Linked DNA regions of Homo sapiens: regions 1, 2, 3, 4, 5 and 7 are each linked to region 6. The links are contacts of gene promoters, found by promoter capture Hi-C in blood cells and fetal thymus (Javierre and others, 2016). All regions are on one chromosome and are shown on one strand. The core of a region is centred on a gene start or on the middle of the fragment in contact, and the rest is flanking DNA. Distances in the headings are between cores, read along the strand shown.

Region 1 (3,090 bases), core at 576-3,075, 340 kb before region 6:
CCTTTCCTACCTTCCTTCCACTGCCATCCACCCAGGGTATTAGATGACTTGGATTGGGCAATGAGTTCCAAAGCTTGTCAATGAGATGCTCAAAGTTTCAAACCGAGGTATGCAGACACCACTGGCAGATGCAATGAACTCGATAGTCAATAAAGGTAGCATTGGAAAATCAAGCTTGGTGGCATTATTGAGCTATATTCAAAGTGAGTAAACAAAGGAAGTCAGTTGAGAGAAAAAACAAGAGCAGATGTGTAAGGAAAAGCAAAAATGAGAGGCCATGTAGCCTGCGAGAGGCCACTGGAAAGGATAGCTGCCATGGCATCCAGGAGGTGAGGGTCCTGCTCTTGGCTCTTGGGCTCCAGAGGCCCTAAGCACTCATGCCTGCTGAGTGTCCTCTCAATTGGCCAGTGACATTAATCTGTGATACTGTTGGCTGGGTCAACAGGACAGTCTGTAGTGTGAAATGGAAAATTCTCTGCAACCTCATCTGGCCCATTGGAAGCCTTGCCATTAACTATCTAAGGTACACTATCAGGCAACAAGGTGGGAGAGCACAAGTAGGTTCAACTCTCCAGATCCTTATTCCCAACTCCTTCCACCTGTCTTACCATAAGGTAAAAGCTCAAACCTCAAGGTAGTCTACAAAATGCAGCTAGAATTGTGGGCTTTCCTGACTTTTAAACTAGCTGCTTCCATGTGTGTGTGTGTGTGTGTGTTGCACACTCACAGCTGAATTGTAATTTATTCTCATTTGATTTCTTGGTGTCAGTCTGTAGAACCCCAAACCTGAATCATGGTGCCTATGCTATCCTTTTCTCACAACTCACCCTCTCTGTGTGAATTTGATTTTCAAATCCACTAGTGTTTTGAAATGTCTGAATTATTCATTCAGAGAAGCAATGCACCATGCACCAGACACCAAATTACTTTCTATGATACTTAGTCAAAGAAAAGGCCCCCTTTAAAAACACTTAATCTTAAATCTATCTAGTCTCAAGGAAGGAAAGTAAGTTCATATTCAAAATCTGTCAAGTCCTAAGTTGCCCTGGGGAAGTAAAAGCAAATTACAAAAACTGTTCCAGGGATTTGTCCACACTTGTTCATAGCTGCATTATTCACAATAGTCCAAAGTGGAAGCAAACCAAGTTTTTCTCAACAGGTGAATGGATGAGCAAAATGTGATCTATCCACACGATGGAATATTACTCAGCCTTAAACAGGAAGAGAATTCTAACACATACTAGAACATGGATGAACCTTGAAGAAATTACACTCAGTGCAATAAGCCAATAAGTATTTGTCACAAAACGACAAATACTGTATGATTCCACTCATATAAGGTTCCTAGAGGAGCCAAATTCAGAAACAGAAGGTAGGATGGGTGTTGCCAGGGGTTGAGGGAAGGGGCAACTGAGAGTTATTGTTTGATGGGTACAGAGCTTCAGTTTGGGAAGATGAAAAAGCTCTGGAGACGGATGGTGGTGCTCGTTGCACAACAGCATGAATGTACTTAACGCTGCTGAACTATATGCTGGAAAATGGTTAAGATGTTAAATTTTATATTGTATGGAAGCATTACAAAAAGTATCCTGTAAAATCCTTTCTACCTGCCCACATACGTCTTCATGATAAGAGGCTTTTTTTTTTTTTAAGTTTACTTTTAAAGAATGGAACTCAGATAAGAAAAGACCATTTGGGCAGGGCGCGGTGGCTCACGCCTGTAATCCTAGCACTTTGGGAGGCTGAGGTTGGGGGGTCACCTGAGGTCAGGGGTTTCAGACCAGCCTAGCCAACATGGTGAAACCCCGTCTCTACTAAAAATACAAAAATTAGCTGGGCATGGTGGCACATGCCTGTGATCCCAGCTACTCAGGAGGCTGAGGCAGGAGAATCGCTTGAACCCAGGTGACGGAGTTTGCAGTGAGCTGACATCGTGTCATTGCACTCCAGCCTGGGTGACAGAGTGAGTCTCCATCTCAAAAAAGAAGAAGAAGAAGGAGAAGGAGAAGAAGGGGAGGAGGAGGAAGAGGAGGAGGAAGAAGAAGGAGAAGGAGGAAGGGAGGGAGGAAGAGGAGGAGGAAGAAGAAGGAGAAGGAGGAAGGGAGGGAGGAAGAGGAGGAGGAAGAAGAAGGAGAAGGAGGAAGGGAGGGAGGAAGAGGAGGAGGAAGAAGAGGAAGAGGAGGAGGAGGAAAAGGAAGAAGAAGAAGGAGGAGGAAGAGAAAGAGGAGGAGGAGGAGGAGAGACCATTTGGGAAAGGTACAGGACCACCCCATTTGCTTCTCTGGACATAGAATACCAGCCAAGGAAAAGTTAGCACCAAAACAGGGTCAATTGATTTTGTTCCTTAAATTTGATGTCCCTCCTCATCCAACTCCTCTGCTCTCCACCCAGCACAGGCAGAGGTGACCAGTTCTTGCCCCAGGGCCTGTGCTGATGTCTGGCAGGACTCTGGAAGGAGCTTCCTCCTCCCCTTGGAGAGCATTGCCCAATGGCAGGTGGAATGAAAGGAGTTTTGTCTGAGATGTGTAGAGTAAAATCCTAGTCACATGCACAAAAATTTTCATGAATAAAGAGCTTTCATCAGAATACATTTGGATTTTGAAACAGAAAGTTGAAAGGTCTCACCACGTTTCTCAATGCAAAATTTGAAAGTGTGCTTAAAAGTCTTCCTTGTTGCTGTTGCCATTACTTAAATATGTTTATTTCACTCTGCTATTGCTAGAGATGGATAATACCTCTGAATGTGTAAGATTTCTAAATGAGCATGCTTCTTTTGTAACCTAAATCTCCCCAGGTTTTACAGCCATATGGCGCTCCTCTTCCTTTAATAGTCAATTAAATATATGCACGCTATAATCTCACAGGACGGCACAGAGACCAGCAGTCCCAATATTAACCATCCAGGGAGGGTCTGGTCCAGGCAGTTTTTTGCGTTGCCTCTTGCTACAACACCTGACTCCAGCTTGGTGCTGGAGAGCCTTAGGCCTCTGCCCTCTCTTCATAATAACCTGGTGCAAACAAAGCACCTCTCTTCCCACCAGATTCCCCAAGATGATGTGGCATTATGCATGATGGCCAATGCATGAGTAC
Region 2 (2,842 bases), core at 287-2,786, 320 kb before region 6:
GTATATTGCCTGATTAGGAAAAAATAGCAAAATATTGTAAAATGTTAAAAGCCAAAACAAACAAACAAAAAACAAAACAAAACAAAACAAAAAAACCTCAGCAGGCACAAGGAGGGGAAGAAATGTGCCAGCTTTGTCACTAAGATAGACCCCATGGATTTGAATCTGTCTAGCTGTGGGGCCCTGGGTCACTCACTTTCCCTCTCTGGCCTTAGTTTTTACAGCTGTAAAACAAAAATAGCATTTCCAACCTCAGAGAGATTTGAATGAGATGATGTATAAAAGCATTTGGTACAAAACGAGCCCTTAGATAATGAGATGCACAGAATAAAAAAGAGAGGGAGCGTGTATGAAAGTCACTAAAAGACAATAGATATCTTTATCATTGGTTTGCTTCTGTCTTTTCTACCTTCCCTTGAAACCTCAACAGCTAACAGAGTCTGGCTCATGGCAAATGCTCAGTGAAAATCTGTTGGAGGAGAGAGTAGAAGACAGCCCTAGAGGACTTTTCTGCCTTACTCCTCCATTTGCTGTAACAGGCCAGATCCAAGGGCCTTGGGATCTGCCTCTCAAAGTTTCACCTTGAGCCTGCCCTTGCAGTCAGTCACTCCCCTGATAGCCCCAGCCCACCTCCTGGCTGCCCACCTCCCTGCAGCTGGCTCCTAGACCATCATAACCCTGTTTTGCATGTGGAGCTTCTCAGAGTCATGCCCCATCCCTGAAGCATCTCCCAGCTTGTATACACATTCCCTCCACTCATCACTCTGGAGCCTTTTTTGTGGGATGATGAACCAAGTAAAGGAGCCGGGGCTGGTCCCTGTGGGACTGGTACATTGGAAAGACTGTTGATGCTCTGCCAATGGCTTCACCACAAATGCCCAGGGATGCTTTTTCAACACAGTGATGGCAAGATTGAAGAAGCACAGTGAAGCATAGAAGAGACCCCTGTGGCTCAGTCACAGGGTCAGAGAGTCAGGCCGTCCTGACTGCACCCCTGCTCATACTTCCAGGAGTGCTCCAAGGACAGGTTCTGATTTCACCTTCATGCAGCTCCCTGGCCACACATGCTTCTCCACTGGGTGCAATGCTCTGGTGGGAGGAAATGAAGTCCTTTGAATTCTTTACTCATTAATACCTATTCCCCATGCGGGACACATTTTTATGGCCTACCAGTGGCCAGTCCCCTTTCATTAATAACAGAACCCTCGTGTATGGCAGTGAGTGCCCTTTTGCAGTCATAGACCGTGGAGTCATCATGTGATCAAGGCCTGCCTCTAGGGAAGGTCCCTCTCCCTGATGAGAGAGGTTCAGGGGGAGGAAGCCCTTTGCCAAGTCTCCCTCGTCTCCTGCTTGGGTTTCCACGGTGTGCGAGGAAACATGGTGGTCATCTTTGACTAGAAAGCAGGATGTTGCTGACACGCCAAAAATGGTAGAGTAGTAAGACAGAAAGAGCCTCCACCCTTGGGGTTATCACAGAGCCACAGAATTCACCCTGGGCCATTCCTAGTGCTCTAAGTCAAGGGTCATGGGATCTTCAGCTGGTTGCAGCCCAAACAATCTTTAATGATGCAATGTGTACACCATCAACAGAGACATCAAAGTCAGTTTCGTTGCTCTTGTATTGCCTGAGAGATGTGGATGCCTTTTTGTCAAAACTCAACCCTAAACTGAGGGCATTCTTATTTTTTGTTTATTTATTTATTATTATTATTTTTAGAGATGAGGTCTCGCTATGTTACCCAGGCTGGACTTGAATTCTTGGGCTCAAGCAATCCTCCTGCCTCAGCCCCCTGAGTAGCTGGGACTATATGCATGCACCTCCATGCCCAGCTCAGGACATTCTTGCAAGGGCAACTATGATGTCTGTGGGTGGAACCAGATGACTTTGATCCCAAGAAAGGGCTCAGGCAGTCAGGCATGCACATTTGCAGCCTGAAGGCCACACACAATGATAGGAGGCAATGGAGCTTACCTTCCTTCCCTGCCCATAAACCTGATGTCACCCTGTGAGTCCTACGGATGTGAGTCACTTTGCTCTTATGATTCTGAAAGAGGGTTTGTGGAGAGGCTTCCTCGGGAGGCTGGAAAGAGAGGGGCAGGTCTCTTCCCTGCCATGATGCCAGCAAGCACTGCAGAAGTGGGACCCAGCAAGTGAGTCTTCCTGGGCGGGAGCAAAAACCTTCCTAGTTGCTACCTTTGGCCTAGTTATATGGAGAGGAGATACCACCTGGATTCTATCCTTTATCTCACCAGTGGTGCCTGGAAGGCTTCAGATTTGCAGCGTGCTTTGAAATGGTTGATTTTCTTCCTAACAGACGGGTACAAGAACCCCTCTTCAGTGCTTCCAGAAGAAATCATGTGAAAGAATACAGTCAGCCCTCTCAGGATAATGGAGACAAGTTCTCACATATTGGTGGGCACACGCATGACCTAGGGAGCTTGTTTAACAGGCAGGTTCTGGGCCTCAGCACTAGTACTTTAATTCAGGAAATCGAGGCAAGGGCCCAGGAATCTCCTTTTGAAATAAACCCTGCATGTCCTTCAACACAAGGTCATCAGACCATTGAAAAATAGATAGAAATGATTGAAATCCATTGATTATTCAGGAAGTTTCATTTTGGGCAATGATCTTTTCTCCTTTTTTTTTTTTTTTTTTTTTGAGACAGGGTCTCGCCCTGCTGCCCAGGCTGGAGTGAAGTGGTGTGATCACCACTCACTGAAGCCTCACCCTCCCCGGCTCAAGCAATCCTCCTGCTTCAGCTTCCTGAGTAGCTGGGACTACATGTGCACACTACTACACCCCACTAATTTGTTTTTAATTTTCTGTAGAGGCAGGGTCTCA
Region 3 (2,960 bases), core at 188-2,687, 400 kb before region 6:
GGTCACTCTTACAAGGTAATCCATTCGCCTGAAGAGGCATGCAGCATCTTGAAGGAAGGGAACCGTTGTGGCTAGGTGATTGGGTGGAATGGCATTCCCTCTGGAATCTGATTGCAGAGCCTGATTTCCAGCTTGGTCCCCTGGTCTTCTTTAGCTTTTGACTTCCAAAGTCTTATTAGAACTAGCTAGGTGGCCCCTAGATTTATGTATCCACTTTTGTCAAAAGCAGGCTACGGAGATGGAGCCTAGTAAGGAAAATAAAGGTAAAGTATTATGGCATTCACTCATTAGGGACAAGATGTCCTCTGGTGTACGTCACAAAGCTTTCACCTGCAAGTGACACTCAGCTCAAACCACCTTTAAAAACAAGGATATTCTAATCTCAGATAAGAAGTCCAAGCAAGTTCCAAGGAGATTAAAACCAGTGGTTCAGTGTTGTTGTCAGGAACATAAATTCCTTCAAGCTCTGGGCTCTACCATCCTCAGAACATTGGTTTTGGCCTTAGGCAGCTCATCCCATGTTTCAAGATCCCTCAGCCCTCCTGGTTTCATAACCACATCGGCAGAGACCACTTCATGGTGACCAACCTGTCATGCTGCACAAGGCCTTGTGCTTAGAAGGACCCACACTTGGCTTAGTGCTCTACCATCACCGTCTTAACATCCTTAGTCTTATCTGTGAACTTGTGTTTTACGAGTGAAATCCTATGGGGACAGTGGAGATGCATGTGAGCAGAGGAGATGTACGCAGTATATATGTCCTCCTTTCCTGCTGTCCTATGTGCAGGTCATGTTGGGGATCCCCATAAGCACAGAATTCCAGGGACCCACGAAGCATGGGAGTCAGTGAGACAGACTCAAAGCCAGCACATTAAGCCCACAACCAAGTAAGTGGCAGCACTGACAGCCCTAAGAGGCCATGCTTTTTGTCCAAATCAGAACTTGCTCTGAACACAAAGAAAATAGAGCTCTAAGAAAACACAGAAGATCAAGCAACCCTACTCTATTCTTTTGAACACGTGTTACTTCCTCGTATTAGACAACTACTTCCACTGAAAATGATGACATAGGTTGGGTATGGTGGCTCATGCTTATAATCCCAGCACTTTGGGAGGCTAAGGTGGGCAGATCACCTAACGTCAGGAGTTCGAGACCAGCCTGGCCAACGCGGTGAAACCCCGTCTCTCCCAAAAAATACAAAAGTTAGCCGGGCGTGGTGGTGCACGCCTGTAATCCCAGCTACTCAGGAGCTGAGGCAGGAGAATCACTTGAACTCAGGAGGCGGAGGTCACAGTGAGCCAAGATTGCGCCACTGCACTCCAGTCTGGACAAGAGCAAAACTCCATAACAAAAAAAAAAAAAAAAAAAAAAAAAAGAAAATGACATAGAAGGAAAGACATAAGTGGTTGGCTAATACACCTTAGTGAACTATTTCAGAAGAAAATTCAGCACAATTCCAGCCTATAACTCCAAAAGCCTCAATTTCTTGCCTTGTTCCTGTCCCTTGATTTTTGTCCCCTCTTCTTTCATCGACAGAGCAGAAGGTCAACTGCCTCAGGTGTGTGCAGTCACTTACTGGCCCTGGAAATGTACATCCAGAACAGAATATTATCTTCCTGGCAGCCGTCCCATTCAGCCTGTGCATGGAGCTGTCCCAAGACCTGAGCCTTCTTAGTTTGGTGATGCTTCACTATGGCTTCAACTCTCCAACTTCTGCCCTCCAAGACCATAGTGATAAGAAAACAAAGATCAACTACCCCCGAGCTGGGAGGAGGACTCCTTTTTTCTCTGTACAGCCTTTTATATGTTTAACTTGCTTACCATGTAATATGGATAACCTATGAAAAAGATTTCACGTGTATACCTTTTTAAATCACTTACTCTACTTGTTTGTGAAGACAAAAATAAATTTAAAAAATGCCACAGACTTCTTGCAAGTTAAAGAAAAAAATTCAGCTTCCTGTGTAATAAGAAATATTGTAAGTCACACTCGTAGTCCGAGCTATTTGGGAAATTGTGGTGGGAGGAACACTTGAGCCCAGGAGTTCGAGACTGCAGTGAGCTATAATGGTGCCCACTGCACTCCCATCTGGGCAACAGAGCAAGGAATCATCTCTAAAAAATAATAAAAATAAAAATAATTTTAAAGATTAAAAAATATATTTAAAAGAAATATCACAAGTGAACTATAATTCATCCCAAAAGAGAATATGGATCTTTTCAAAGAGCAACATCAAAATGTCCAAGGCTAGTCATCATTTCTTTCTTGAGAACATTCATAAGCCACTGCTCACCCCTGGACTCCATTTTAAAAACAGATGCCACAGAGTTCTTCACTGCTTAGCCCATTCTCACATCACCAGTCCCCAAGCACGGACCTCACCCCTGGCCAGCCTTCCGGCATGCCAGGCCTCCTCCTCCCTCAAGCCCATGCGGAAGCAGGGAAGTGGGTCACACAGGGAGCCCATGCTATGGGTGGACGTACCCTGCCGACGAAAGTGGAAGGGCAGAGGTGGAGTGGTTTCTTCTTCCTTATTCCTTTATATTCTGTTAAGCTTTAGCAACTCTCTCAACTGACTCATGCATGGACTTGTTCTAGAAGAAACTGTTAGAGGCAGCAGAGGTCTGAAGGTGCTTTAGTTCCACCCCTAGATGAGAGTGACAGTCCCAGACACCCAGCAAGTTGGCATTAGAACCAGAGCTAGAACCCAGAGCTTGTCCCCAGCCAAGTTCTCTTTCATCTGCAATATCTGATTTCCCAGAATCATCCTTCATGGTGTGTTCTGGACCAATTTTTTGTCCAAAAACTAGACAAAAAGATAACTGTTTCATTTCTATTTCTACACTACAGCTCATACAATTTAAAGGAAGGACACTGCTGTAAGAACCATCCTCCATCACCAAAGAAAACTGGTTGAGTTCTTTTTATTTATTAAATAAGACTGGAAAGGGTCATTGTC
Region 4 (3,151 bases), core at 458-2,957, 500 kb before region 6:
CTTTGTCTACGCAGAAAAACCTAATCTACAAATTACTGGAACTAATGAAAGTTGAATTAGCAATTTATTTGGGGACTAATTTATTACATTATTTCAAGAGATAGCTAGCATGCATCGCGTTACTTAATTCATTTTCATGGAGGTAGAGTACATCATTATACGTATCGACTACAATTGTGTCCCTCCTCCTTTTGATAAAAATTTAGGTTGTTTCCACTTTTTTGCAATTACAAACTGTTGTGAATATCCGTTATTTATGTCTCCTGTGTCAGAAAATGTTTACCGGCCCAGTCCTTTTTTTCTTTCTCCAGTTTTCAGCAGCTTAAGCCTGGGCAAAAGTATTTAGACTAATTGCTCTAGTTGTATCAGTTTTGTCCAGTAATGTTTCCATGCACACTAACAGTTTTTAAATGTTCTGAAGACACATGAACAGATGGCAAAAAAAGGCTGAACAATATCCAAACGGTTACAGCAATGGTGTTACAGAGAAGGGCATAGCGTTGAGCCAGGCCTTCTTTAAACTTTGCTGTGAAGCAGAAGAAACTCACACGTGGTGTTTAACTTGTGTGCAGGTCTGCGGGGGAAGGACGGCTGTGATTGTTCAACGGGTGAACTCTTCTCCTTTATTCATCCGAAATCCAATTTCCTGTCTTATTTTTCATGGCAGCTTGCTATCTTTCAATATAATTCTTTTTATATCTTTAGCAAAAGTATTTTTTATTCCCCTAATCAGGAAGGGAATGCTAGGGTGTGTTGATTCTGGAGGCAGAGAAATGAGTCCTTTCCTTGGTTAGGAATGTATTTTGCTGGCAGAGAGACCAAGCCAACCGCAGCTCTGCTTTTCCCCTCCAGCATCCACCTGTAAGAGCTTGTAATCTTTTATTGTTCATGGCCCCGGGATCCTATTCCCGGATGGTCTATGTGAAATGAAGAGAAAGTACAAGCAAGTTCAGATTTCCCATAGAAACACCTCCCTCCTTCCTGTCCAGGAGAGCTCTATTGCAGAGTTGGAGCATCCAGCAGACCCACCCTGGCTTCATCTCATTGACATAAGAGATGCAGAAAGAAATGGCGAATTGGCTTTGGGAATGAAGAATTTGACTTCCCTGGTTCCAGTTCAAGACATACGGGTGGGAACTCCCACTGGGTATCCACTCTGCTTTCTTGGGAAAGCTTCACGGTATCTTTAGGAAGGAAGCCTGGGATTCCACACCCTGGAGATACTGGATCTCTTATTCTCTATGCACTTCCTTACACACTTTCTCTTCCTTCAAGGGCCTCTCAGTTGAGGCACTACTCCACCTTAAATCCAGGTGGCCACATTCAGAAGCACTGTCACGCTGGCCTCTCAGCAACATGCTAACACAGAAAAGGAGGCTGTTTATGAGTCAGCTCTGCCAACAGGATTGCTTCCTAGGAAAAGTGCAAATTGATTTTTTTCCTCCTGTTGGTCTGCTGGGGGATTGGAGGCAGCCACGGACAATTCATTAGCACATGTAGGAAGGCCAGGGAGAAAAATAAGCTAAGTTGCTCTCATACTAGAAAGCATTTAGGAAGCAAACCCATAAACATGGATAATTATTGTGTGTCCATTAAAATTTAAAAAAAAAAAAAGAATTCGTGCTTGTTCTGTAGGCCTCTGTGTATGGCCAAGATTGGCTACAGGGCCCTGAACATTGCAAGAAACGTTTGCACTGGCAAGGAAGGGTGCTGGCCTCTATTTTTGTAGAAACAGGGTCTATGTTGCTCAGGCTGGTCGTGAACTCCTGGGCTCCAGCGATCCTCCTGCCCAGGCCTCCCAAAGTGTTGGAATTACACACATGAGCCACCACGCCCAGCCAGGATCTGTATGGTGGTGCTTATACGCAGTAACCCTGCATAGAACTACAAGAGCGAACACGTGCGTGCGTGTGAAAACCGCTAAAACCTGAGTACAGTCTGTAGAGTACACCAGTGTCAATGACTAGGTTTTGATACGTGGTTCTGTAAGATGTTACCATGAAGGGAAGTGGGTGAAAGTACACAGGGCACCTCTGTACTCTTTGTGTAGCTTCCTATGTCTATCATTATTTCAAGATAAAAAGATTTTATTTTAAAAAAATGGCCTGAAGCTCTTGAGCCTGAGGCTACGCATCTCCCTCTGCCTTTATGACCCACAGTGCAGGCCCTGAGCCCCCAGAGTCTGGGCTCCACTGCCCTGGCCTCTGGGGCATCTGAGAAGCCTGGTACAGGAAGGAAGCATGAAGCTTAAAATAGTGCTCAGTTCCTCCTTTTACAAGTGAAGAAACGGAAGCTTAGGGGGGGGCAAGGTGAGTGCTAGCTGATGCCCTGATTTACTGCCTGAGTTACATGGAAGCTTCTGTCCCTAGGAACATACCAAGACAGTCTGCCCTAAAATGGTCAAGCTAGAAGGCCAAAGCGAGGGAGGGCTGGGGTTTTGTTTTGTGGGGTGTGTGTGTGCATTCTCATGTGTGTATTTAAGGGCTGCAAAGGACATACTGGTTTTGATGTCACACTATGAGCACAAATGGTGTAGAAATTCTATTCCACAACATGAGCGATGTTCAGCAAAGTCAGTAAGAAGGTGAGCATGTCTGAGCTTACCTGCAAGATGAAGGCCTGTGATGACGGTGGAAACTCTTTCTGACCCCAGCAGCCACAGAAATTTGTATTTTGCCAAGGAAGGCTCCTTCTTTGAAAATATATAGGAAGAAGACAGAAGTCTACCTTTCTGATACCACTTTAAGCAATAGAGGAAAAGAAAATTATCTTGTTTTTCCACTGTCCTTCCAGGGGTGATTCTAGGACCGTTAAGATCTGGCCGTGTCTGAGCAAACACCAGCCACCTCCGACCTCCAGCCTTTCAAAGAAACAAGCTGGACTGTTTGCATTTATATGATTCAAAATGAAGGTCACAAAAGCACAACTGACTTGATTTTATGAAGAGCTTTTGTTGACAAACGTGAAGTTCCCAGAATACACAGTCTTTGGGACTTGAGTTTTTTTGTATATATTATTCTCTGTGCCTGAGTTGGTAGAAAAGAGCCTACATAACATAGGCTCCTACTCCAGCCCAGTACAAGGTTTTCAACCTGCACACTTTCCATAAACCCTCTCTGCCTCAGTTTTCCCAATTCTAAAACACGGATGA
Region 5 (3,179 bases), core at 159-2,658, 450 kb before region 6:
TCAATATTTGAGGAGTGTGACTCATGGGAGCGTCTAGAATCATGGAATCACACCCAAGGCACCATCCAGAGCACAGCCTGGTTCTCTTGAATACAATTTCAGTGTTGGGGACTCCACTCTCTTTGGAAGCTCTGCTCATTGCTAGAAAGTTGCTCCCTTCTAACAAAAGCCACCTTTCATGCAGCTTCTCTCCGGTGGTCTCACCTACTCCTTCCCTCTTGCTTTATACAGATTAAACTCTTTCCTCCTTTGGGTGACAGGCAGTTCAAAGATGTGCCAGCAGTCTCCTGGCCTCCTCTGCCACAGTCCCTCTGCTCCGCTTGCGACCCTCCAACCACCCCAGAGCATTTTCCTCTCCAGATTCGTGTCTACAAACACATCACCGCTCCGTGGCTGCTGGGGTGCAGGACTGGGGTGCTGGCAGCAAACAAAACCAGAATGGCTCTTCTACAGTCCTCATAGGACCTGGCTGCCAGGTGGCTTCTGCCAAGCTGACTGCAAAGGAAGGGAGACCTCCTTACAGTGTTGCTGCCAGCAAGGATCCCCAAAGGCAGCCATTCTTTCTGTGATGGTGCATTTTGGTTTTGTGCTGGTGAACTGTGCTCCCCGGGGTCTTCTCTGTCTGAGCATACAAACCTTTCTCCTTCCAGTTGCTCAGGCCAGGAGCCTTGGAGTCACCTTTAACCCATTTCTTTCTCTCCCACCCACTTGCGTTTCCTCAGCGGATCCTATTGGCTGTTCTTTCAAAATCTCTCTGGCACCCAAAGCCTTCCCCCACCTCCACCTCTACTCCAAGTCATCTTCATCTCTCACCTGGATTCCTGCAATCGCCTCCCATCTGGGCTTTTCAGTGAGGCAGCCAGAGGGATCTTACCGACACAGGCGCCAGGGCAGGCCACCCTCTCCTGACCAGAGTCCCTTTCAGAGTGGAAGCTGATGTCCCCACCATGGCCTTTGAGGCCCTAAGAGTCTGGCCTCCTGTGTTGCCCTTACCTCACCCCCCCCATCCCCCCACTCCCTGCAGCCCCACTGGCCTCCTTCTGCCCCTCTAAGGTGGGGGCCCCAGCCCATAGCAGCACTGCACCTTCTTGCATCTGCTTCAGGTCTTTGCCTAAATGTCGTCGTCTCAGCAGGGCCTCCTTTCACCACCCTGCTCAAAATTGCAGACCAGCACTTGCCTTGACCCATCCAGTGCTTCCATCCACTCCCTTCCTGCATGAGTTTTCTCCATGACATGAGCACCTGACACACCATACATAGTCACATATCATAAGGGTGGTCTGTCTCTCCCAGAGATGCTGTCAGCTCCACAGGGCAGGGGTTGGCTTGTCTTGTTCTACGTTATCCACAATGTCCAGAACAGCACCCAGCACATAAAAGTTTCTCTGTAAATATTTGTTAAATGGTTAATTGTACTGTGGGTCACACGTCTAATACTTGACCTGTGCCCCTTGCAGGGAGAATACCAGGTTTTGCTGGAACTGTACACTGAAAAACGGTCCACCGTGGCCTGTGCCAATGCTACTATCATGTGCTCCTGACTGTGGCCTGTAGCAAAAATCACAGCCAGCTGCATCTCGTGGGACCTCCAAGCTCCTCTGACTGAACCTACTGTGGGAGGAGAAGCAGCTGATGACAGAGAGAGGCTCTACAAAGAAGCGCCCCCAAAGAGTGCAGCTGCTAATTTTAGTCCCAGGACCAGACATCCCCAGACTCCACAGATGTAATGAAGTCCCCGAATGTATCTGTTTCTAAGGAGCCTCTTGGCAGTCCTTAAGCAGTCTTGAGGGTCCATCCTTTTTCTCTAATTGGTCGCCTCCCACCAGACTCACCTGCTTTTCAACTTTTTAGGAGTGCTTCCTCACAGTTACCAAGAATAAAGAAAGCTGGCCACCATTGTTCATTGTGGTTTGTTCAAAGAATCTTACTACAATGCTGTAGTTAAAAAGTCATTTCCTCCAGATACAGTGCCGGATGCTGGTGCAGCATAAGCAGTTCCAAGAAATTCAGGAGGGTGACAGCCTGGCTAAAATTAGAACACTGGGAAAATGTGCCATTGCTTCTCCTGGGCAGGCCCCCACCCTTGGACCATGAGGGCCGAGAAGCTGATGCAACCTCACGAATAGGGACATCATACTCTCGCTTATCCAAACATTCATTTCACCTTCATCCCTCAAAGCATGATTACACTTGACCTCAGCATATGCTGGCGTTCATTACTGCATTCATTAATGAATGCAAGGAATAACTCCTGAACACTTAATGTGTATCAGGTGCTGTGTTCTTAAGTTGTCTTCTACGATGCTCTCCGTAAATGAGCATGTTGCCCATGCTACTTCCAGAGCCATTTCTGCGGCCCCGTCTTCTCTCCTGGGATGCACTGATCGCATGGTGGGCTGCATAGCCCCTTCACCATCCGACGCCCCTGTCCTTCCAGTGTCCCTGCTGGCCCTCTTGCTCCTGCTAAGGGGCTGGAGTAAGGTGGGTGAGTTGACACTATCATTCATAAAAATGCCACTATATTAGAGATTAAAAGAGAAAAAAATTCCATAGTTTAAAAAACAGTAGTTGCTATTAATCACTGTTTATACATCAGTAAACCACCTAGAATAGCAGGTCAAAAATGCCTGTCAAACTTTAAAACCAGCATCTGAGGTTTTCTGGGTTATGAGCAGGCAAAATTGCAGCAGCGTCCTTGCCTAGGCCCATAATGCTCGAGGGAAAAGACGTGCGTGGTCATACTAGGCTCAGGAGCAAACCTCTGAACGTACATGGGGGTGACGGTGTTACGCACAAGAATAGCAAATGATTCCTGCCCCTGGCCATTCCCTCTAGCTTGAGACATTCACCTCTCTCCCTTTTCAGTAACCATCACCACAAGTAGTAAAGTCCCTGGCTAGACTCTGTGTACGCACATGTTCTAACAGTACAAGACAGCTGTCACAGCCTTCCAAAGACACAGGTGGAACTCAGCCAGTCCCTTCCCAATCCCTTTGCCCTCTTCTTTAAATTGACTGTGTGGGTGCGTGTGCGTGAGAGAGAGAGGGAGGGAGAGAGAAAGTTTCAGATGCTATAGGTTTGTGTTAAACTGGAATTTCCATATATGGAGACTATCCTAGTCATAGCTGAATATACAAGTACACAGCCGTTTCACTAAGGACATGATTTGAGAGAAAAAA
Region 6 (3,018 bases), core at 39-2,538:
TTCTCTGGGCTCCGTGATAACTTGGGGCAAGGCAGCCAGTGCGAAGCGTGGTGGCAGGAGCTGGAGAGATGGAGAGCGGCTCGGAGAAGGGCCCCTGCTTTTCAGAGTTGAAACAGGAGCCCTCTGAGAGAAAGAGATACTGCGTGTGGCTTCTCTGAAGCCTTGGAGGGCGACGTGGATGACACAGCATCAGCCATTCCATCGCGGGGTGGGGACACAGTGGCGGCAGGAACCGTCCTCAGCCCCTGGCGGCCACGGCAGTTCCCCGCTGAAGCATCCTTTGTGGGGTGTGGGTAAGGGAGGGGGACCAAAGTCGGGTCGGAGTTGAGTTTGTTAGACGGCGAGCACACTCAGGGCGGCAGCCCGAGTAAGAAGGATGGCCCCGGGAGAGAAACGGCTCGAAGCTAGGGGCGGGGTGAAGCGCCTGCTCCTTAATCTCCTGCCCCATCATCCACTCGCCCCACCTGGATGCAGAGCGAGGACCGCGTGGAAAGGAAACGGCGCGGGCGGGGCTCCCCCTCGCAGATGCCTCGGAGACCCAGAGGGGCGGCGTCAGGCCAGGGCCCCGAGCCCTACGCCCCCCATCCCCCCAACTCCAGCGCCTCTGAGGTGCCCCTCTCGCAATTCCGAGGCATCACCGTGTCTCCCCCGCCTCCGTTAAAATAGTGAAACTGCGGAGTGAAGTGATGGAAAGCCGGGGGCGGGGAGTCGCCCGCGGCGAGGGGCTGCAGGGGAGGGGGCGCGGTGGCCGAATAAGGTGGCCCGCGAGCAACGGGACGATTGGGATCGCAGCCAGTCGCGGCCTCCCGGACCCTTCCCCTCGGGCAGCCCGGCCCTCCCATGGCCCGGGGCGCCTTGGGAGGGCGTAGGGCAAACCTGGGGCTGCGGTGGGGGGTGGGGAGGGGACTCCACCTCCATCCATCCCGGGATGGCAACTGCGGTCACCCTGCTAAAGTCGGGGCGGGGGCGGCGGTCCTCCCCCTCACCCCCCCCAGTCCGAGCGCCGCCGCCGCCGCCGCCGCCGCCGCCGCGGCCGCTCAGTAACACGTCCCCAGGAGACTCGCAGGAGCAACACGTGATGTGTCTACTTATCAGGGTGAGAGGGGGAGAGCGAGACTCCGAGCGTGCGGGCGAGGAAGCTGGGCGGGGGGCCGAGACGGGGGCCGGGACGACGGCTGGGGCGCCGGGGTCGCCAGCTCCTCGCCCACCTCCCTCCCTGTGGGAGAAGAGGAGGAGGGGAAGTGACTGCGGAGTTGATGAACTTTGCACATCCAGAAACGCCATTTTGATTCCTTTTCCGGAACAAGTTTGCATCTCTCCTCGGTCTCTCCCTGAAGCCCACCGGTCCCCAACGCATCATGCCAGGGAGCCAAGCGTCCTGCCCGGCCGTAAGTACGTGCCCCGGATTCCGACTCGCGGTACGCCGGCGGCAGCGAGAAGTCTGGGGCACAGCCGGAGCGACCTTTTAAAGAACTTTGGGGATGGGGAGGGTGAAGTCTGCAGAGCGCGTTGTACTTTTGAAACTCGGTGTGTCCCGGAGCCGGGGACCCGCACGCCCCACTCCGCGCAGCGTGCGCTCGGGCCGGCGGGGCGGCCAGGGATGAGCGGGGCAGCCCTCTCCCCTCGGGCTGCGCGCCGGGCCATTCCTCCTCCTCCTCCTCCTCCTCCCCTTCCTCCGCTCTTTTCCCTTTCCCGAGCCGCCGGCTCTGCCAACCAGCTCCCAGCGCGAGCCGCCGCAGCGCCCCGCCAGCAGGACCTGATGCGCATCCATATTAGCCGTCCGAGCGCAGGAATCCGGCCCGACCCGCGCCGCCGAGTTTATTTTTAACCAGCACCGCCGGGACTCGGATGGTGCGCGCACCGCCGGCCAGAAACATCTTCCCAGCGCTGCTCTCCATCTTCCGCCCTCTCTCCCTCGACATCCTCCCCCCCATGTGGGAGGGGAAACTTTTCTCCTACATACTTTCGAGTCCTTCTCGGGCCGGGAAGCGCGGAGATGACGGCGCCCGCCCTCCCGCCGCCGCCCTAAGGTATCCGGGGGTGCCTGCCCGGGGTGCTCGCGCGGGGGTGCCTGCTCGGGGCTGCTCGGTGGGAGCATCCGCCGCGCCCTGCTCTGCGGACTTTGAACCTCCCGGGCGGACGGCGCCGGCCGGGAGGGGGCCGCGGGCAGCCCCGCGCCCTCGCGGGTTCCCGGCTGGCGGTCGTGGTCACGCCGACCACCGCCCCGGGGGGCCTGGGGAGGAGGGGACCGGGCCCTAGCCGTGCGGGCACGTATTGTTCCCTCGCCCTTCCGTTGGCGGGGTGAGTGTTTTCGTGGGAGCCCTCGGTGTGGAGCTAGCCTGCCTCGCGGGCGGGGGGGGTGGGGGGCTCGGCGCCGTCACGAGCACAGGAAGGAGGCCGGGAGCATCCGAGGCGGGGCCGGCCGCCGGGGCCCGCTCCGCCGCCCAGCTGTGGAGCGCGCTCGGAAACTTTTGTCCGCCGCCCGCTGGACCAGTTTTTCACGAGTTCTGGGGCTTCCCTTCCTCCTCCCATCCCGGCCCCCGGCGTCTAGCTGGGTGGGGGGAGGGGGCCTGTTGCTGCCCCCCCCGCCCCCAACTTCCCGCACAAGCCTTGGGCCGGGCCCCCCGCGCCCCCTCCCCGCTCGCGGTCTCTTAGGAAACTGCGACCTTAATGGTTGCTAAGGAGCAGGGGAGGTCCTTCCCGTCGCCGACCCCCTCCCTGGGAAGCGGCGTGTTTTCTGGACCGGGCCAAGGGCGCGTCGAGGATGTGACCTGCTCCGCGGCCGCGCGTGAGTGCGGGGCGCGTCGGCCGAGCCCACCGATGGGCGAGGCCACCTTTCTCTCCGGGCGGGGCGGGGAGCTGGGGGACGCGGGGACCCCACGGGGTGCGGGCCCGGGCCGCTTGACAGGCGCCGCGTGCAGCTCGCGCCCCTCGGCCGCCGTGCATCCGTGATGGGTTATAAAAGAGGAGGAAAGTATTTCTCCTTGCTCAGCAGATTTGCCCTCCCTCGCTCCTTAC
Region 7 (2,855 bases), core at 84-2,583, 430 kb before region 6:
ATCCAACCTGCTTGACAGAGCAAGACCCCATCTCTAAATAAATTTTTAAAAATACAATCCGCCAGGCACAGTGGCTCACTCCTGTAATCCCAGCACTTTGGGAGGCCGAGGCAGGCGGATCATGAGGTCAGGAGATAGAGACCATCCTGACCAACATGGTGAAACCCTGTCTCTAGTAAAAATACAAAAATTAGCTGGGTATGGTGGCACACGCTTGTAGTCCCAGCTATTCGGGAGGCAGAGGCAGGAGAATCACTTGAACCCGGGAGGAAAATATTGCAAGGAGCAGAGATCGCGCCACTGCACTCCAGCCTGGCGACAGGGCAAGACTCTGTCTCAAAAACAAACAAACGAAAAACCAATCTACTCCAAAAATACTATTTAAATAACAGAAAAAGCCTGTTTCTATTTCTGTCAATGTATGTGTATTGCATGTATGTTACAAATAATCCTTTTCCTAACTTAGAACTTATATTTCTACAGGGTGAGGGCTTATGTATAAAACCAATATAAAATAATGAAGAGGAGAGATACCAAATCTTACATCTTTTCCTTGTACAACCTGAAGACATGCCTCAGACCCAATAATTTTTTATATTGCAATTTTCATTTTAATTCCTTAATTTTGTACTAATTTTCCAAAATGTTTGGTAGATTTCCCTCAATATGCTAAGAGGTCAGCTTAAGAGAATGGGCAGGGGGTCTTGGAAACTCAGATAAGGGCCTTGACACTTATTTTGGGCAAAGCTAACACTGAGTCACAGGGTTGTTCCAATGAATTATTTTCCCTGTTGCCTCAGATGAGAAAAATTCACTCTGATTTTATTTCTTATTCTTGTGTCTGCTTTATCATCACAGTTAATATAAAATATGCCAATAAATACTCTATCTAAACAATAAGTCTTCTCATTTCCTTTTTGCGCCACACAGAACTTGCAGAAAATGGGGAAAACGGGGCTACCTTTTCTTAAACCAGTTTGCCCAGGAAGCCCATGCTGTGTAGTTCACAATTTCAGCCAGGAGGTGGCGGTAGTAACCAATGGCAAAATCCTGAGACACTGCCTCTATCAGCTTCTCATTGTCCTGCGGACGCTTCCTGGATCTAATCTGATGCTTATGAAAGTGATTTCCTTCTTTCGAAAACACCAGGCCCAAACAAAAACTAACTTCATCCTGCAGATAAAAACTGTATGTGCCTTACAAGTTGTCAGACTCCTCCAGACCTTCAATCAATATTTTCCCAGCAGCAAAATGCAGCTGCACATTTTAGGAAGCAGAGTGGGCAAATTCCTTCTGCGGAAGCCCATGAACCATCAGGCCTCCCCCTCAGGGTGGCAGGAAGGTGTGGAAAGGGGGACTAAGCAATCCAAGCTGCTAGACAATCCGAGCTCCAGGGAGGCCAAGCACATTCCCCCAGTTTGTGCAGGAAACAGCAGGGAACTGAAAAAAGGGTTCTGTTGAGATGAGACTGATGTTCCCAAGTCCTGAGTCCTCAAACCGAATCACTTTCCGGCAGCAACACCTGTCTTTAGCATGCAAACATCGGTCTCATAGAGTCTTCCCTGAAAGATGTTTAATGATCATGTCATTACTGTCACTCTTTTTTTTTTTTTTGAGAGTGAGTTTTGCTCTTGTTGCCCAGACTGGAGTGCAATGGAGCGATATCAGCTCACCCCAACTTCTGCCTCCCAGGTTCAAGCGATTCTCCTGCCTCAGCCTCCCGGGTAGCTGGGGTTACAGGCATGTGCCACCACGCCTGGCTAATTTTGTATTTTTAGTAGAGACGGGGTTTCTCCATGTTGGTCAGGCTGGTCTCAAACTCCCAACTTCAGGTGATCTGCCTGCCTCGGCCTCCCAAAGTGCTGGGATTACAGGCGTGAGCCACTGCGCCCAGCCACTGCCACCTTTTAAACTACAGAAGATGAGTGTGCCTGCTCAGACAATGAAGGACTCTGAGGGATTTGGAGAGCCACAAGGAGTCCAGACCTTAACCTGAGGGCAACAGCACCATTAAAAGTTTCTAAGACAAGGAGGAACACGGCTCCACCAATTTACAATGGCTAAGAAGAAAATAAGCTCGTCGGAAGGCAGGAAGTTGAGTCAATTTTCTATCCATGAATCTCAGCATTAGGTTGTTTTTATTGAACTTCTGATAGTACATCTTGAAGAATGCTAAGGAAAAGTCTAGAAAGGTGCTCTTAGTCTCCTTTCTCTACTGCAGAAGCCCTTTGTGATCTCCAGGGGAAGCAGCCCCCGTTTCCATATGGTCCCAGGGAGACGAACGACGGCAGAACATTTCATGTGCTGTGGAGGCACCTAGCTTCAGAATGTGAAAAAGTAACCAGAGCTCTCAAACCTCCCTTTCCTCATGTGTTAAATAGGGATAATAGTCCTTACGTCAGGGTTGTTGGGAGAGTGAAATGAGATCACATATGTGAGTCACTGACCTACAGTAAGTGTTTGGTAAACAGTAGTTATCATGGGCGGAGGCCTGACCTGGGAAACGGTCGGCAGGCACAGTAAACTCACCAGCAGATGCTAAAGGGAGCCCCGAGGCTCATCATACCCACCACATGTACACGCATACACACATACACACACACGCACTCATGCACACACACAAGCAGGCACAGAGCATCCCTCCTACATCTCACACATGCCAGGTCTTCCGGGAGTCACTTCTGTGCTTCAGCCAAGATGCCCTGGAAATTTTCCTTTTCTCACCTGCATGAAAATGCTTTTGAGGCCCCCCAGCCTCCGCCCGGAGTTTAGCCCCTTCAGACTCTGCACCCCTGGGGGTGGCCCTGACCCACCCACCCCTGGAGCCCACCATTCCAGGGCTCCCTGATTGTTTA

The links. Contacts are between HindIII fragments. The CHiCAGO score rates a contact against its expected background, and 5 or more counts as called.
Region 1: a contact is called between a fragment that was not itself captured here and the fragment with the promoter of RREB1 in region 6, in 1 of 17 cell types (monocytes). The highest score is 5.4, in monocytes.
Region 2: a contact is called between a fragment that was not itself captured here and the fragment with the promoter of RREB1 in region 6, in 3 of 17 cell types (M2 macrophages, M0 macrophages and erythroblasts). The highest score is 9.6, in M2 macrophages.
Region 3: a contact is called between a fragment that was not itself captured here and the fragment with the promoter of RREB1 in region 6, in 3 of 17 cell types (fetal thymus, erythroblasts and monocytes). The highest score is 5.5, in fetal thymus.
Region 4: a contact is called between a fragment that was not itself captured here and the fragment with the promoter of RREB1 in region 6, in 1 of 17 cell types (naive CD4 T cells). The highest score is 6.3, in naive CD4 T cells.
Region 5: a fragment that was not itself captured here is called in contact with the fragment with the promoter of RREB1 in region 6 in 1 of 17 cell types (activated CD4 T cells); the score reaches 5.6 in activated CD4 T cells.
Region 7: a fragment that was not itself captured here is called in contact with the fragment with the promoter of RREB1 in region 6 in 5 of 17 cell types (monocytes, erythroblasts, M2 macrophages and 2 more); the score reaches 6.9 in monocytes.

The regions. Positions count from the first base shown.
Region 1 is chr6:6,769,251-6,772,340 of GRCh38, forward strand. The region is part of intron 2 of LOC101928004 (a long non-coding RNA gene); the gene reads right to left. Among named protein-coding and RNA genes, the nearest start is that of LINC03055, 110 kb to the right of the region's middle. The HindIII fragment of the contact is 3,307 bases long and covers 173-3,090 here.
Region 2 is chr6:6,789,102-6,791,943 of GRCh38, forward strand. All of the region lies in intron 2 of LOC101928004 (a long non-coding RNA gene), which reads right to left. Among named protein-coding and RNA genes, the nearest start is that of LINC03055, 95 kb to the right of the region's middle. The HindIII fragment of the contact is 7,184 bases long and covers 1-2,842 here.
Region 3 is chr6:6,704,834-6,707,793 of GRCh38, forward strand. The region is part of intron 4 of LOC101928004 (a long non-coding RNA gene); the gene reads right to left. Among named protein-coding and RNA genes, the nearest start is that of LY86-AS1, 83 kb to the left of the region's middle. The HindIII fragment of the contact is 2,232 bases long and covers 322-2,553 here.
Region 4 is chr6:6,608,247-6,611,397 of GRCh38, forward strand. The region is part of intron 1 of LY86 (lymphocyte antigen 86); the gene reads left to right. The region is part of intron 1 of LY86-AS1 (LY86 antisense RNA 1); the gene reads right to left. Among named protein-coding and RNA genes, the nearest start is that of LY86-AS1, 13 kb to the right of the region's middle. The HindIII fragment of the contact is 1,073 bases long and covers 1,172-2,244 here.
Region 5 is chr6:6,653,087-6,656,265 of GRCh38, forward strand. LY86 (lymphocyte antigen 86) reads left to right here. Exons shown (of 5, transcript NM_004271.4): 5 at 1,458-1,896. The coding sequence ends at 1,541. Among named protein-coding and RNA genes, the nearest start is that of LY86-AS1, 32 kb to the left of the region's middle. RefSeq lists a silencer at 771-961. The HindIII fragment of the contact is 4,773 bases long and covers 1-3,179 here.
Region 6 is chr6:7,106,673-7,109,690 of GRCh38, forward strand. RREB1 (ras responsive element binding protein 1) reads left to right here and starts at 1,289. Exons shown (of 13, transcript NM_001003699.4): 1 at 1,289-1,388. RefSeq lists an enhancer at 98-157 and silencers at 508-987, 1,048-1,267, 2,058-2,547, 2,568-2,657. The HindIII fragment of the contact is 7,744 bases long and covers 1-3,018 here.
Region 7 is chr6:6,675,980-6,678,834 of GRCh38, forward strand. No RefSeq gene overlaps it. Among named protein-coding and RNA genes, the nearest start is that of LY86-AS1, 55 kb to the left of the region's middle. The HindIII fragment of the contact is 3,069 bases long and covers 1-2,855 here.